Regions from separate parts of the Homo sapiens genome. Here all the other regions are linked to region 1. Evidence: promoter capture Hi-C in human tissues and cell types (Jung and others, 2019). All regions are on one chromosome and are shown on one strand. The core of a region is centred on a gene start or on the middle of the fragment in contact, and the rest is flanking DNA. Distances in the headings are between cores, read along the strand shown. Region 1 holds the start of LDB1 (LIM domain binding 1). Region 2 overlaps SUFU (SUFU negative regulator of hedgehog signaling). Region 3 overlaps ACTR1A (actin related protein 1A).

Evidence for each region. Contacts are between HindIII fragments. The study calls those that stand out against the background at their distance.
Region 2: a contact is called between a fragment that was not itself captured here and the fragment with the promoter of LDB1 in region 1, in 1 of the 25 tissues and cell types used here (adrenal gland).
Region 3: a contact is called between a fragment that was not itself captured here and the fragment with the promoter of LDB1 in region 1, in 2 of the 25 tissues and cell types used here (heart left ventricle and lymphoblastoid cells).

Annotation. Positions count from the first base shown.
Region 1 is chr10:102,117,562-102,122,220 of GRCh38, forward strand. LDB1 (LIM domain binding 1) reads right to left here and starts at 2,807. Exons shown (of 11, transcript NM_001113407.3): 1 at 2,525-2,807. The coding sequence starts at 2,549. It also overlaps a transcript of PPRC1 not described here. RefSeq lists enhancers at 1-285, 286-987, 2,693-3,444, 3,445-4,196, 4,197-4,659 and silencers at 1-113, 2,447-2,516, 2,607-2,686, 2,747-3,046, 3,067-3,196. The HindIII fragment of the contact is 10,982 bases long and covers 1-4,659 here.
Region 2 is chr10:102,591,172-102,595,830 of GRCh38, forward strand. SUFU (SUFU negative regulator of hedgehog signaling) reads left to right here. Exons shown (of 12, transcript NM_016169.4): 4 at 1,411-1,553; 5 at 2,465-2,550; 6 at 2,822-2,894. It also overlaps the pseudogene RNU6-43P. Among named protein-coding and RNA genes, the nearest start is that of TRIM8-DT, 50 kb to the right of the region's middle. The HindIII fragment of the contact is 8,336 bases long and covers 1-4,659 here.
Region 3 is chr10:102,483,512-102,488,170 of GRCh38, forward strand. ACTR1A (actin related protein 1A) reads right to left here. Exons shown (of 11, transcript NM_005736.4): 4 at 4,639-4,659; 5 at 2,098-2,222; 6 at 649-865. Among named protein-coding and RNA genes, the nearest start is that of ACTR1A, 17 kb to the right of the region's middle. The HindIII fragment of the contact is 9,793 bases long and covers 1-4,659 here.

The DNA.
Region 1 (4,659 bases), core at 1,557-4,056:
ACCCAGGCCTCCAGTGTGCCTGCCCCCCTTCCTTTGTCTGTGCCCGGCCTCCCGTTGGCCTGGCGCTCTGCCATCCTCCTCTCCTGGCTCCCAGCCGCCACCACTGCTGCCTCCTCCCCTCCCCCTACTCCTCCCTGCCTTAACCCTTCTGAGCCACATGCTGCCCCAGACAGGCCCTGGCCCCCTCAGCCTCTTGCTCAGGGTGATGCCCCTTAGTCAGAGGCTCTCCCTGCTCCCAGCCATTCCAGCCCCAGAAGCTGGTCCTCACCCCAGGAGCAATATGGGTGTTGGGCATGTGTATGTGTGTATCTTGTGGTGCTTCTGCGTGTGCATGTGTGTGGGTCTGTGTGCGCTCTGGCTTCCCTCAGTCACATGTGTGGGGCATGTGCTGTCTCTGCCGGGCTGGGGGAGGAGGAGGAGCCCGGAGACAGCAGAACACAAAGGAGAGACTCAGACAGGCAGGCAGGCAGGCGGCAGGCGGCCTGCCAGGGCGCCTCAGCCCTCACCCCAGGGCTGCTCAAGGTGGGGGAAATCTTTGGGCCTGGACTGCTACATGCTGCCATGCCTTCCTTGTGTTCAAGCATGTGCTCCCCCATCCAAGCAAGCTGCAAGCCAGGTCCCCTCTCTAACCTCAACTGCTACTATTCCCCACCTCCAGTCTACTCTGAAGCCCTCCCCATGTGGTTCTCCTTGAAGTCTAACCTCCATCCACCCTCTTTGGCATCAATCTATAAGACTTCTTCATGATCTGGAAAAAGACTCCCCACTCTTCCCTATCTTTTGCCCTCTCTCCCTCAGTCAGACCACCAGACACAAAAGGAACATGCCTTCTGGGGCATTGACTGAAGTTGTCTTCCCACCCACCCACAAACCCCTGGGCTTGGGCCCTCTTCCTGTTCCCATGCTGCTCCCAGAGACTAAGAAGAAGAGATTTTCTCTCTCCTCCCACTGGACCCAGGCACCCTGCCCCAACTTCAGGGCCAACCTCCCATCCACCTCCAGCCTGACAACCCCTCCATACATACATACCCGCTTACCCACTATTTGTAGGAACTAAGAATCACAATTTAAGACTCATCCCTCTAGCTTGTTCAGATCCTTAGTTTAACTGCTCTGCTCATGTGTGTTGATGGAGGGTCAGGGCCCTGGGGTGGGCTAAGAACATGATGGATCTGAAAGGGGTACCCAGCATGGGTCAATTATAAAGGAGAAAATCCACAACATAAACATGTACACCAAGCTGGTAGAAAGAGGGACGACGGGGCCAGACAGGATTCCAGCTTGGCAAGCTCTTCCCTCTCCTCTCCCCAACCCTCTGCAGCAGGAGCCAGTGGTTCCCATACTCGGATATTCTAGGATTGTTAGGTTCTCTTATTCCTCCTTCTGGGACCCATGCCCCTTAGACATCAGCCTCAGCAGGCACCTGAAGTGTGTGCCCAGCCCAGCTTGGCCTGGGTCACATGATTTTCAAGGAAGCTTCCGCACTGGCAGCTTCCCTTGGGGATTTGTGGGGGAGTGGTGGGTGTCCAGCTGTGAAGTATGTAGCCAAAGCGGGCTACATTCAGGGACACTGACTTCCAGGAGAAAGCTGACTCCAGTCTGGGGCAGGAGGGCCAATTCCAGGACCCAGAGTCCCGGGGATGGAGACAGACAGTGTGCCGTGAGGCCCTCTGTAGACTACCTCTCCAGTCGCATGGCTTCTCTCTTTCCTCCTGGCAGTGAGGTAGACGCCCTCCGCCCCCCCCACCTGCCCCCCAGGAAAAAAACTCAGACCTAGGCTATCCCTGGCAAGAGCTGATATGTTTTGGGGAGGCAGGGATCTGAGCCTGGGTCCTCTCTCAAGTTCTCAGTTTTGGGTCAAGTATTGCTCCCCCAGCTTACCTCTCCACAAATCACTCTATTTCCTAGCCTGCCCTCCCACTAGGGCGGAGATGCCAGACCCAAGGGTCCAATTATCTGGCACCTCTTAGGAGTACCTCCGGTGCCTCAGGAGGGCCAACCTTCCCTGGCAACAGGCAGGAAAAGTTGAAGGTGGGGGGCAAGATGGGCCGCAATCAATACCTCCCTGCAAACAGGGTCCTCAGAAACAGCATGGGGGGGATGTCACAGGATAGGTAAGAGGCAATGGGCAGCAGGGAAGGGGGGGCAGCCCAAACCAGCCAATCACAACTCTATGGTGACCTGAGGGGGGGGGTCAAAAGTCCAGAGTCACTTCTGATTGGCTAACAACCTGGAATTCTGAGAATTTCAGCCCCCCCCAAACCTCTCCCCAATTAGCCTACCCCCAAAAAAACATACACATAAGCCACCCCCAGCGTCTCCTCCCCGTGTTTCTGGGCTGCTGCGCATTTACACAGTTGGGGAAAACGCTACCCGCCAGCCTGAGGCCCCGCGTAGCCCTTCCAGCCCCCGGCTTCCCCCATGCCATCGACGCCCCCCACACAAGTTCTCGCCAAACACGGGGTGAGGGGTCCGCAGGGACGGCTGGGCAGGAAGGGGCCGAGTGGCCGCACGCCCCACTCACCAGGACAGGCACAGCCCACTGACATCTTCACATCGCCCGCCTCTGGGGGCCCAGCCGAGTCACGGTGCCCGCCCCTCGCGGGGACAGGCCGGGCATGAGCCGCCGCCGCCGCCCGCGGCCCCCGCTGCGCTCGCCGCCGGCCCGGCCCGGCCTCGGCCCGGTGCGGGCGGCCCCTGGCTGCGGCGAGGGGCCTGTCAGGCGCGGAGCAGACAGGAAGGAAGCCAGGCAGGAAGGCGAGCGGCCTCTGCGTGTGTGCGCGCGGGTGTGAGTCCGCGGAGTGTGTGTCCGTGTGTGCGTGTGTGCGCGTGTGCGTGTGCGTGTCTGTGCGCTCCCGCCGCCGTCGCCGAGCGCCCCCCTCTCCGCCCTCGCGCTCGCGCTCCCTCGCGCCGGCGCCGGCTCCCCAGCCCAAGCCGGGCAGGGCCGGGCTTTATTAATATGCTAATTGTCCTGCTAGTGGGAGGGGAGAGCCGTGTCAAAGTGACCCGGGAGAGCGCGCAGCAAGCGACGACGTGCGTGCGCCGCGCGGCGGGCGGGCGGCGAGGGGCTGGGAGCGCTCGGGGAACGGCATGCATGTGACGCAGCTTTTAAAAAAGGAGACGGAGGCAGAGACCCCAGAGAGGGAGGGCGAAGGGGAGGGCTTGGAGGCGCAGCCGCGCGCTCGGTGTCCGTCCTCCGGGTGCCGCCGGATGGGGAGTCTGGCTGAGCCGGAGCGGGAGCCGCGGCTGGGGGAGGCGGAGCCGGGGTGGGCAGTGTGGTGTATCTCTCTCCACCCCGGGCCGCGCTCCGGGAGGGAAAAGGGACTGCAGACCCCCTGTCCGTGCTCCCTGCTGAGACGCCAGCCTTCTTCTGGAGGCCCCTTGTTTCGCGTCCCTACCCTAGGCTGGATGGGTAAAGAAGCATTCTCTTAATTCTTGTAGCAACCCCTCAACTCACCCCTTCCCTAAATTAACCACTCCTCCTTTGCCTGCGAAACCAGTTGGGACTAGAACTAAAAGGGTTAATTAAGTGGGGTCCCCGCCCTCCTCCGCCTAAGGGCTTGGGATCTGTGTTTTGCTGGGGGGAGGGGGCTGCGGAATGACCACCAGATTGGATTACGGAGGGGCGATAGGAGGCCATCCTTCCTTCTTGCAGACTGACGCATCAGTCAAGACACTCTCTTCCCTTCCCCCCTTTCTCCAGCCTTGGTGCCTTCACCTCCGTACCAACCGCCCAACCCCACCGCCTCCGACCCCCCTGCCTGGAAGCTGCTGTCCTTTGAGGGCTTCGGAGATGAGAACAGGAAACAGGCCCCTCCAGTGCCCCCTAACCCAGAGAGGCAGAGGCTGTGGGCCGTGGGGGGTTGGATGGGAGATGATGTGGATGGTCAATGTAAGGAACACTCCTTCCCCTGGGAGGAGCCTCCCAACCTTCAGTCACACTTCAAGGACTCCCCAACCCAGCCCTAGGAGGGGAGGGGCTCCATCTCCATCCCTTCCCAAAAGCTCAGCTTTAGCTGCCTCATAAACAGGAAATACCTATTAGCCAGGAGGAGGGAAGGGAGGGGAGCCGCCTGGAGTAGAGAGTTGACCCCCTCCCTCCTGGGGTCCCCAGCTGCTAGCTTTTCTTTCTTAAGTTTCAGTATGGGCTCCAGGGATAGACGATGGAGACTTGGACTAGTGTCTCCTCCCTAGGGCGTCTGGCCCTGACTGGGTAGGGGGTTCTCCTCTTTGTTACTTAGAGGGGTGTTGGTTGAGAAGGCTGTTTGGTTCCCTCACTCTGGCTCAGAGTCTGCACAGCTGGCTTGACTGGCTGGGGGAGGGTTACAAATGCGGAGGCTTAAAGTGTTTATGAGACCTCTTCTCTCCACCTTAGGTTTTTGCTGAGGGAGCATGAAATGATGGAACGGTGCAGAGTCCAGGGATTGAAAAGAAGGCCTGCCTAGGAATGGAGACCCTCCCCACCATGTGCTTAGGATGGGGGATAGGGGAGCTTGTACACTGTGGAGTCTCCCACCCCCAGGTTTCCCCATCTCCACCCCCACCAGGAGCAGAGAGGACCTGACTGAAGCCATCCACACTCACACAAGTATTTCCTTGGCAGCATCCCCTGCCTGAGTGCACCCCCTCCCTGCATTCTCCCAGACAAAGGTCAGCACT
Region 2 (4,659 bases), core at 959-3,458, 470 kb after region 1:
ATTTAAAGAATGAGATAGCTCTCCATATGCTGAGAAGCAGTGATCTCTGCTGGGTGCTGTGGCTCATACTTGTAATCCCCGCACTTTGGGAGGCCGAGGAGGGCGGATCACGAGGTCAGGAGATCGAGGCCATCCTGGCTAACACCGTGAAATCCCACCTCTACTAAAAATACAAAAAATTAGCCAGGTGTGGTGGCACATGCCAGTAATCCCAGCTACTCAGGAGGCTGAGGCAGGAGAATCGCTTGAACCCAGGAGGCGGAGGTTGCAGTGAGCAGAGATCGCGCCACTGCACTGCAGCCTGGCAACAGAGCGAGACTCCATCTCAAAAAAAAAAAAAAAAGGTGATCTCGTGCTCACTTCAGCAGCACATATACTAAAATTGGAACGATACAGAGAAGATTAGTATGGCCCCTGCGCAAGGATGACATGCAAATTCGTGAAGTGTTCCATATTAAAAAAAAAAAGGTGCTGTCTAAGATATATAATTAAGTGAAATCTGCAGAATAGTGTGCTTCCATTTGTGTAAGGACAAAACATGGAAGGGAGCCTGTGGATGCATAGGCTGGACATATAGAGCACCTTGGCACCCACGATGAGAGTCAGAGCTGGTGAGAGACTTAGTACCCTGTGGGGTTGTTTTCCCTTGTGGTTATGTGGCCTTAAACAAAACTCTCTCTAAAGTAACGTACCTGCTTGAAGTGCAGTGGTGAGCCTGTGTGTGAGGAGGCTATGCCCTCATGGCAACAGCTACCCTTGGCAGAATCTGAACATCTCAGAGACATGGCCTGAGGATCCTCATGAGTTGTCTCTGCCACGGTGTGGGAGGCACTATTTAGACCTCCATTTACTTGAAGCCTAGTGTTCCTCAGGAATTCCTACATCTGCCTGTGGGAAAATGGTGATAGATTTCAAAGGCTCTCCAAGGTTCGATGTTTCCTTCTGAGTGCCATTTCAGCAACATAGGAATTTCGGTCTGTTTCTCCAAGGTGAAGGGCTTTCATTGCCCTGTTGCCTCTCTGTGGACTTCTGGCCAGGTGGCCCTACAGAAAAGCACCTTATTCTTTCTTGGCAGATCCAGTCATGGCTCCTGCCTCCCACCATGAGTCGGGATATTGGGGAAGCGAAGCAGATGCCAGAAGTCTTTCTGGTTTCCCAGGCCGAAGGAGCTTTCACACTAATAGCCTGTCCTTTTCAAGTCTGACAGAACTGGCAAGCAGGAACAATTTAGGTTTTTGGAAATATCCACAAACTCTTTGCTTCCATCCGGAGTGAATGCTTCTCTTCCTTCACAGGGGCTACCCTAAGAGGCTGGGAAGCCTCCCAGCCTGGGCTAGTGAGATCCCAGCCCAGATTCCAGGCCTGGATCTGGGGCCTTGAACAATGAGGATCCTTGTATCTCTCCCACAGAGAACACCTTCTGCAGTGGGGACCATGTGTCCTGGCACAGCCCTTTGGATAACAGTGAGTCAAGAATTCAGCACATGCTGCTGACAGAGGACCCACAGATGCAGCCCGTGCAGACACCCTTTGGGGTAGTTACCTTCCTCCAGGTGAGGCACAGGTTGGACGCTGGCTCAAGCCTTCCTGTGGGAAGGGTCCTGGGAGGACAAGGAGGCTTGAGGAGGGGGAGTGAAGGGAGTGGGAGGTTTCCTTTGGCCTCGTCCTGATTTCTGTTTCCTCTGATGGTTTGTCAGGTAGATTCAGATGGTCTGATTTAACCTGCTGAGATGGGAGAGGGGAGAAAGGGAAGGGGGCATTTGGTTGGGAGAGAATGGCTGTAGCTGAGAGGGAGTAATGGGGTGGCGGGTATTCTTTGAACAGTGAAGACCCAGTCTCAGGAACAGGACTTTCCAGCGGGAAGCCAGCTCTGGGTCGTCCTTGCTCTTTGCCAGAAGCTGTGGGAACCTGCCCAGCTTTGACCAGTGCTTGTTTTTGGTCACGAAGTCTATGTGAAGGTTCCACTGATTCCCTTGATATTTACACAAAGGCCTATCCCCTAATAAGGAAGGGAGGAGTTTCTCTGCAGGCTGCTATGACCTATTGGTGGTGGTTCCAAGCCTGATAGGTCTCAAAGTCTCTTGTTTACATTCCCCATGATACCAGACTGGGTAGGAATGGCTCCCTGAACCTCCCCTACTTCCAGAGACATGGCCTGAGGACACATCTTGAGTTGCTCAGGCCTTGGTTTTCTCCTTTGTAGCTAAGAGCTAGACTTGGTGTCATCCAGACACAGCAAGGGCAAGGGTCAGGCCTCAGGGCCCACATGTGGACCCAGCCATTTCCCAGCCAGGCAGCCACTCCCTCCTAAGGGAATCATCCAATCTTGGCTGCACCAGCTCCTGAGCACAGATCCTGCCTGTGGTCTCCCAACTGGAGGTGACTCAGAGAGCCTGGGTAGCTGACCTTCTTGGGGTGGGGGGTGGCCATTAACACACAATGGGCTTTCTATCCTGGGCCTCAGATCGTTGGTGTCTGCACTGAAGAGCTACACTCAGCCCAGCAGTGGAACGGGCAGGGCATCCTGGAGCTGCTGCGGACAGTGCCTATGTGAGTACCCATGCAAGGTGGGAGCGCGGCTCCCTGGGCCTGGGGGTGGGAGTCCCTCCACTACCCTCCATGTGGGGCTCCCTCTTGCGTTGTTATTTCAGACCCTGGTTTTTCACATCAGGGCTTCCTGACGACTCACTCCCTGACAGTCCCTGACCACGAACTATTCCCCTGTGTCCTAGGCCTGGGGCAGCAAACAGGGCAGGCTGTAGGCCCAGCCCATCAGCCCCAGACCCTCAGTTACCATTGTATCCCCTTTCCTTGTCCACAGTGCTGGCGGCCCCTGGCTGATAACTGACATGCGGAGGGGAGAGACCATATTTGAGATCGATCCACACCTGCAAGTATGTCTTGAGTGAGGAAAACCTTTCTAGCACCCTGTGCCTAGGCCTCTTCCAAATAACACTGGCTTTCATCCTGGGAAAACAGAGGACCTTTATGTGTGAGTGAGTAGAAATATGGCATCACTTGGAACTTGTCCCCTGAATTCTGCAGAGCACGTAGGGAGCAGAGGTTTCAGCCCAGGAAAGCTAGTCCTCAGACATATGTATTTTGGCATTTTAAAAGGATATTTTTATTGTATGTAAATTATATATTGGCTTAAAAAATTAGATTGCCAGCAATAAAAGATAAGTGTAGTGGATATTGCTTGCTTGCCCAGTATTCATTCTCCTGCCTCCCAGACTTTCTTTTAGGGAGCCACCACGGCCACCACCGCCCTGTACCAGACAGTAGTGTAGGTGATACTGACTCCATGGCTCAGCTGCAGGAGTGAGGGCTGATTGGTCTAATGGTCCTATCCCCATTTTCGCCACATTTTCTATCTTGGACAGTCAGATGCAGAGCTCCTAGCCTGGAAAGATTGGCACCTTAGACACACAGGCTGGCAGCTGCCCACTCCCTGTGGCCCACCTGGACATTGTTTCAGTGTCATCTTTGCTGTTTTAGAAGCATTCCTTTGTCATGCAGGTAAAGTTTGAAAGCCACAAGAACGTAACTGCCTTTTCTTTTTTTGAGACGGAGTTTCGCTCTTCTCACCCAGCCTGGAGTGCAGTGGCACAATCTCGGCTTACTGCAGCCTCCGCCTCCCAGGGTCAAGCAGTTCTCCTGCCTCAGCCTCCCGAGTAGCTGAGATTACAGGCGCCCACCACCACGCCCAGATAATTTTTTGTATTTTTAGTAGAGACAGGGTTTCACCATGTTGGCCAGGCTGGTCTCGAACTCTTGACCTCAGATGATCCGCCCGCCTCGGCCTCCCAAAGTGCTGGGATTACAGGTTTGAGCTAGTGCGCCTGGCCCATAACTGCCTTTCTTATGGGCTTCTCTTGAAGCAGGAGCCACAGACAGCTAATAATGTTACCTGCCTGGTGTCTGGCTCCTTCTACTCCCCTGACCAAATGCAGGTCATTGCCATCTCTAAACCTGCCATGCTTCTGTAAAATATCTGGTAGGCCACAGGCAGTTGCCGGGAGTTCCATGTGTTAGAGCAAGAGAAAGGTGGCAGATGGACATGTAGCCAGCAGCCCCTGAGTTCTTCACTGTAGACTTGTGAGTTCTTGGGCATAAATCCTCTTCATTCACAGATGATGCTCCTCTGTTTTCCTAGTGCCTTTAACACTGAACATTTCAAACTGCTGCCAGGATCCTCTGTTCTCTCTGCTTTAAACTTGGTTTCCTTGTATCTTCTGCATATGCAAGAACCAGGAACCAGGAAGGCTATCTTTCCCTAAGCCCTTGTTCTGTAGCCACACTGGGATCCAGCATGGGGCACTGTGGGCCGTTGTTTGGCCCCTGTCATAAGTGCCAAGTACTAAGAAAGAACCTGGTCCTTTGCACTAGTAGGGTAAACAGCTGTCCTTCCATGCCAAGGGCTGTTCTTCCTAGTCTGCAGGATCCCCTGAGAGCAGCCCACAGGACCCGGAGCACCTAGTGGTCTTTGAAAGCAAGCCAGGGTCCCACAGGAACAAAGGACAGCTTTCTTTCCTGGTGGCTCTGTGCACCAAGTGTGAACTCCTCTGTATTCACTGTGCCTTTCTGGGGCCTGCTTGCTATCAGTCTCTTTAGAGCTGGCATATATTCCTGTGATTCAAGCTCTACACTAACCAGCTG
Region 3 (4,659 bases), core at 1,585-4,084, 370 kb after region 1:
TATGACTTCTTCAAGGATGTTAAAAAAATAAAAATAAAAAAACCAGGAGTGGGCGCGGTAGCTCATGCTGCAATTCTAGCACTTTGGGAGGCTGAGGCGGGCAGATCACTTGTGGTCAGGAGTTTGAGACCAGCCTGATCAACATGGTGAAACCATGTCTCTGCTAAAAATACAAAAATTAGTGGGGTGTGGTGGCAGGCACCTATAATCCCAGCTACTTGGGAGGCTGAGGCAGGATTCAAGCGATTGCTTGAACCCGGGAGGCAGAGGTTACAGTGAGCCGAGATCACACCATTGCACTGCAGCCTGGGCGACAGAGCGAGACTCCATCTCAGAAACAAAACAAAATGAAACAAAACCAAACCCTATGTAATTTGCATATAAGGTATAAAAAACATACTGAGCCCCTATGTAGCCATCACCCAACTGAAGAAATGGAAGCAGCTCCCTTTCCCCCAACAAGATGGCAGCACGTCAGGAAGGCGAATCTGTCAGTGTGACGTAGGGGAGACCTGGCTGGGAAGAACAAGGCCTCACCAGGGACCCCCAGGCAGGTGCTTTGCCTGGCTTCACTGGCAGGTCACCAAGGTCCTGGGTGCTATGCTCCCAACCCCCACTCCATCCCTAGGCCCAGGGGGCAGCACTTACTTCTTTTATGGCCTTGACAATCTCAAACTCAGAGGATGAGTGGAAGTCGTAGCCCTCCTTACGCAGGTAGAGGCGCAGGAAGCGAGAGACGTCCCGGCCCGCGATGTCGATGCGCATGATGGAGTGGGGCATGGCAAAGCCCTCATAGATGGGCACAGCATGGGTGACTCCATCCCCAGAATCCAGCACCACCCCTGTGGTCCTGCCTGTAGCGTAACTGAAGCAAAGGGGCAAACCGTCACTCAGCACTGCCTCCTCACGCTGGGAAGAAATACACTTCTTTATTTAGGGTTCAATGTCAGCTAAACTAAAGCTTGGGCCTGCCTCTCTCCAGGGTCTGTAGAATGGACTGGGTACTAAGGAAGCCCAGGTGTTGGAGCAAGCCATGAAATACCTGAACGGAAGTTGCTGATCTTCTCCAAGTTCCCTCCCCGTACCCAGAAGAGCAGGCCTTCCTGTCTGAGATGGCCTGGCCTTCAGCTGCTTCAGAGACCCAGCCTAGGGGCCAGTTTTAACTCTCTAGACAAAAGGCAAAAACCCTCAAATGTCAACAGGGGCCAGGCAGGAAAAGTAAGAGTAAAGAAAAATAAGAATATTTTTCACTTCCATAAAAAACAAAGGCAGGAGAAGACCCTGCTTTACTGGTTTGAGAGCCCGGGGACCTTTGTCAGCCTCCCTCCAAAAAAAGGCAAGTGAGGCAACTGACCCCCTGCTTCAGTGCGGAGAGGCCAACAGAGCATGGACAGGCTGTGGGGAGGGTGGGCTTGCCAGCCCCATCTCAAGTGGCAGCCGCTCTTCAGCTCCAGCTGATTTTTGCCCTGTGGGAATGTGTGCCCGACCTTCCCAGATCTTCCCATTTTTTCAGAGAAGCCAAAAATTTGGGTTTTGATGGGACACCTCTTGATTTTTAAATGCTGGCTCACAGTTTGTTAATGGGGTCAAATAAATCCCACGTGTAGGTCACTTGTGGATAATCTCTGCCGTAGACCTCACTCTGGTGTGAGGTGGGGTAGGAGTGTGACAGGAGCCACGGGGGATGGGAACAAGGACTGTGGTGGCATTCGGATCATGGTTGTCTCACAGCCTGGCAGAGCAGCTGGCCACAGTAAGTGCTGAATAATAAGTGGACACATTACGGGGGCCTCCGGGAAGAGCTGCTGCAGCATGTGGCTGCCTCGGCAGGCCCAGCCAAGGCCTTGGGGACCAAACCCACTAGGAGTCCTGACACTGGGATATGGTCAATAGCAGCCACATGTCCTTCTTTGCTTTCAACTACGAAGCCTCAGTGCTCAGTTTCAGCAAAAGCCTCTCTCTCTTTCCCACCATCTTTAACCTTTCCCTAGCAGAGGGGGCTCAAGTTACTCTGAACCATTCCAGAGGAGAGCCAGCCTCAGCTGTGCCAAAGGACTGCTTTCCCCGCAGGGGCCGGGCTAGCCAGCTGCTACTCACAGGCTGAGTACAGCTTGCATGGAGATGAAAAGAGCGGGCACATTGAAGGTCTCGAAGAAAACTTCGGCAGCTCGTTCCCGGTTTTTTCGTGGGTTTAAAGGCGCCTCAGTCAGGAGCACAGGATGCTGGTGAAAGGAGCCCGGGAGACAATGAGGCCAAGGCCAGATTTCCATCTTCATTAGTCTTAGGGGAGAAGACCCTGCCTTGCTGGTTTGAGAGCCCGGGGACTTCAGTCAGCCTCACTCCAAAAAAAGGCAAGCTGTGCCTGTCAACTATCCCTGCCCAAGTAGTTTTCTCAACTTTTCAAGTTAATGCCCACTTTAAAATTTCATTCTGTCCTCAGCTGTGCCCCCCAACTCCCCTCCTTGTCCTCCAAGATTGTTATACAGGCCCCTGTGTCTACTGTGTATCTCCAACTGTCAAGAAGATTTTGTGAAACTCTAAATTCCTGCCGCAGACCAGTTCTAGTCTGTGACCTGTTAGGAACCAGGCTGCACAGCAGGAGGTGAATGGCAGGTAAGCGAGCATTATTGTCTGAGCTCCACCTCCCATCAGATCATCCAAGGCACTAGATTCTCATAGGAGTGTGAACCCTACTGTGAACTGCGCATGTGAGGGATCTAGGTTGGGCACTCCTTATGAGAATTGAATGCCTGATGATCAGAGGTGGAACAGCTTCATCCTGAAACTATCTGGCCACCCCAAACCCCCACCCCCATGGAAAAACTGTCTTCCAAGAAACTAGTCCCTGGTGCCAGAAAGGTTGGGGACCACTGCTTTAAAAAAACTGTCTGAAAACAGCCGGGCGTGGTGGCTCACACCTGTAATCCCAGCACCTTGGGAGGCTGAGGCGTGCGGATCATCTGAGGTCGGGAGTTCGAGACCAGCCTGACCAACATGGAGAAACCCCGTCTCTACTAAAAATACAAAATTAGCCGGGCTTGGTGGTGGTGCATGCCTGTAATCCCAGCTACTCAGGAAGGCTCAGGCAGGAGAATCGCTTGAACCTGGGAGGCAGAGGTTGCGGTGAGCCGAGATTGCGCCATTGCACTCTAGCCTAGGCCACAAGAGCGAAACTCCATCTCAAAAAAGCAAACAAAAAAAACCCAAAACTGAAAACATCCCACCTGCACCTGGAAATTGATACACCTAGTCTGCACCTCTCTGCATTTTCTTTCTTTCTTTTTTTTTTTTTGAGACAAGGTCTCACTCTGTCACCAGGCTGCGAGTTCAGTGGTGCGATCTTGGCTTACTGCAACCTCGATGCCCCCAGGCTCAAGCAGTCCTCCCACCTCATCATTTCAAGTAGCTGGGACTACAGGCACGCACCACTGTACCCGGCTATTTTTTTTTTTTTCATATTTTTAGTAGAGGTGGTGTTTCGCCATGCTGCCCAACTTGGTCTCAAACTCCTGAGCTCAAGAGATCCACCCAAAGTGCTGGGATTACAGGCATGACCCACAGTGACCAGCCTCCCTTTACATTTTTGAATGGAGAGTTACTTCCTTACAAGTTAATAAGCACAGGCTGCACAAGGTGGCTCACGCCTGTAATCCCAGCACTTTGAGAGGTGGAGGCGGATAGATTGCCTGAACCCAGGAGTTCGAGACCAGCCTGGGCAACATGGCAAAACCTTGTCTCTACAAAAAATACAAAATTTGCCAGGTGCCATGGCTCATGCTGTAATCCCAGCTACTTGGGAAGCTGAGGCAGGAGAATCATTTGAATCCGGGAGGCAGAGGTTGCAGTGAGCCTAGATCACGCCATTGCACTCCAGCCTGGCCAACAAGAGCAAAACCCCACCACACACACACACACAAAATTAGCCGGGCATGGTGGGGGGTGGGGCTGAGATGGGAGGATTACTTGAGCCCAGGAGGTCGAGGCTGCAGTGAGCTATTGCACTCCAGTCTGGGTGAAAGAAGTTAATGAGCACAGGCTTTGAATTCTAAAAGACATAGGTTTGAATTCCATCTCTACCCTTTGTTCACTTGGTGACCTTGGAAATACCACTTGGCTTTTCTTTTTTTTTTTTTTTTTTGGGACGGAGTCTCACTCTGTCACCCAGGCTGGAGCACAGTGGCGCAATCTCGGCTCACTGCAAGCTCCGCCTCCCGGGTTCACGCCATTCTCCTGCCTCAGCCTCCGGAGTAGCTGGGACTACAGGCGCCCGCCACCACGCCCGGAGAATTTTTTGTATTTTTAGTGGAGACAGGGTTTCACCGTGTTAGCCAGGATGGTCTCGATCTCCTGACCTCGTGATCCACCCGCCTCGGCCTCCCAAAGTGCTGGGATTACAGGTGTGAGCCACCGCGCCCGGCCACGACTTGGCTTTTCTGAACTTGTTCCCTTGTTTGTAAAATGAGATAATACTACCTATATCTCATAGGAATGGTGTTAAGATTAAATCTGAATATGCCTGAAAATCAAATGGCTCCAGCACTCTTGGCAGTGATCATCGTCCTCCTCATCATCTCTAGGGTAGGAGTTTGACACAGCTTTGCATACCCTACAGGAGTGCCCTACACACAGGATCCTCACCTCCTCTGAGAAAGTCTGCAG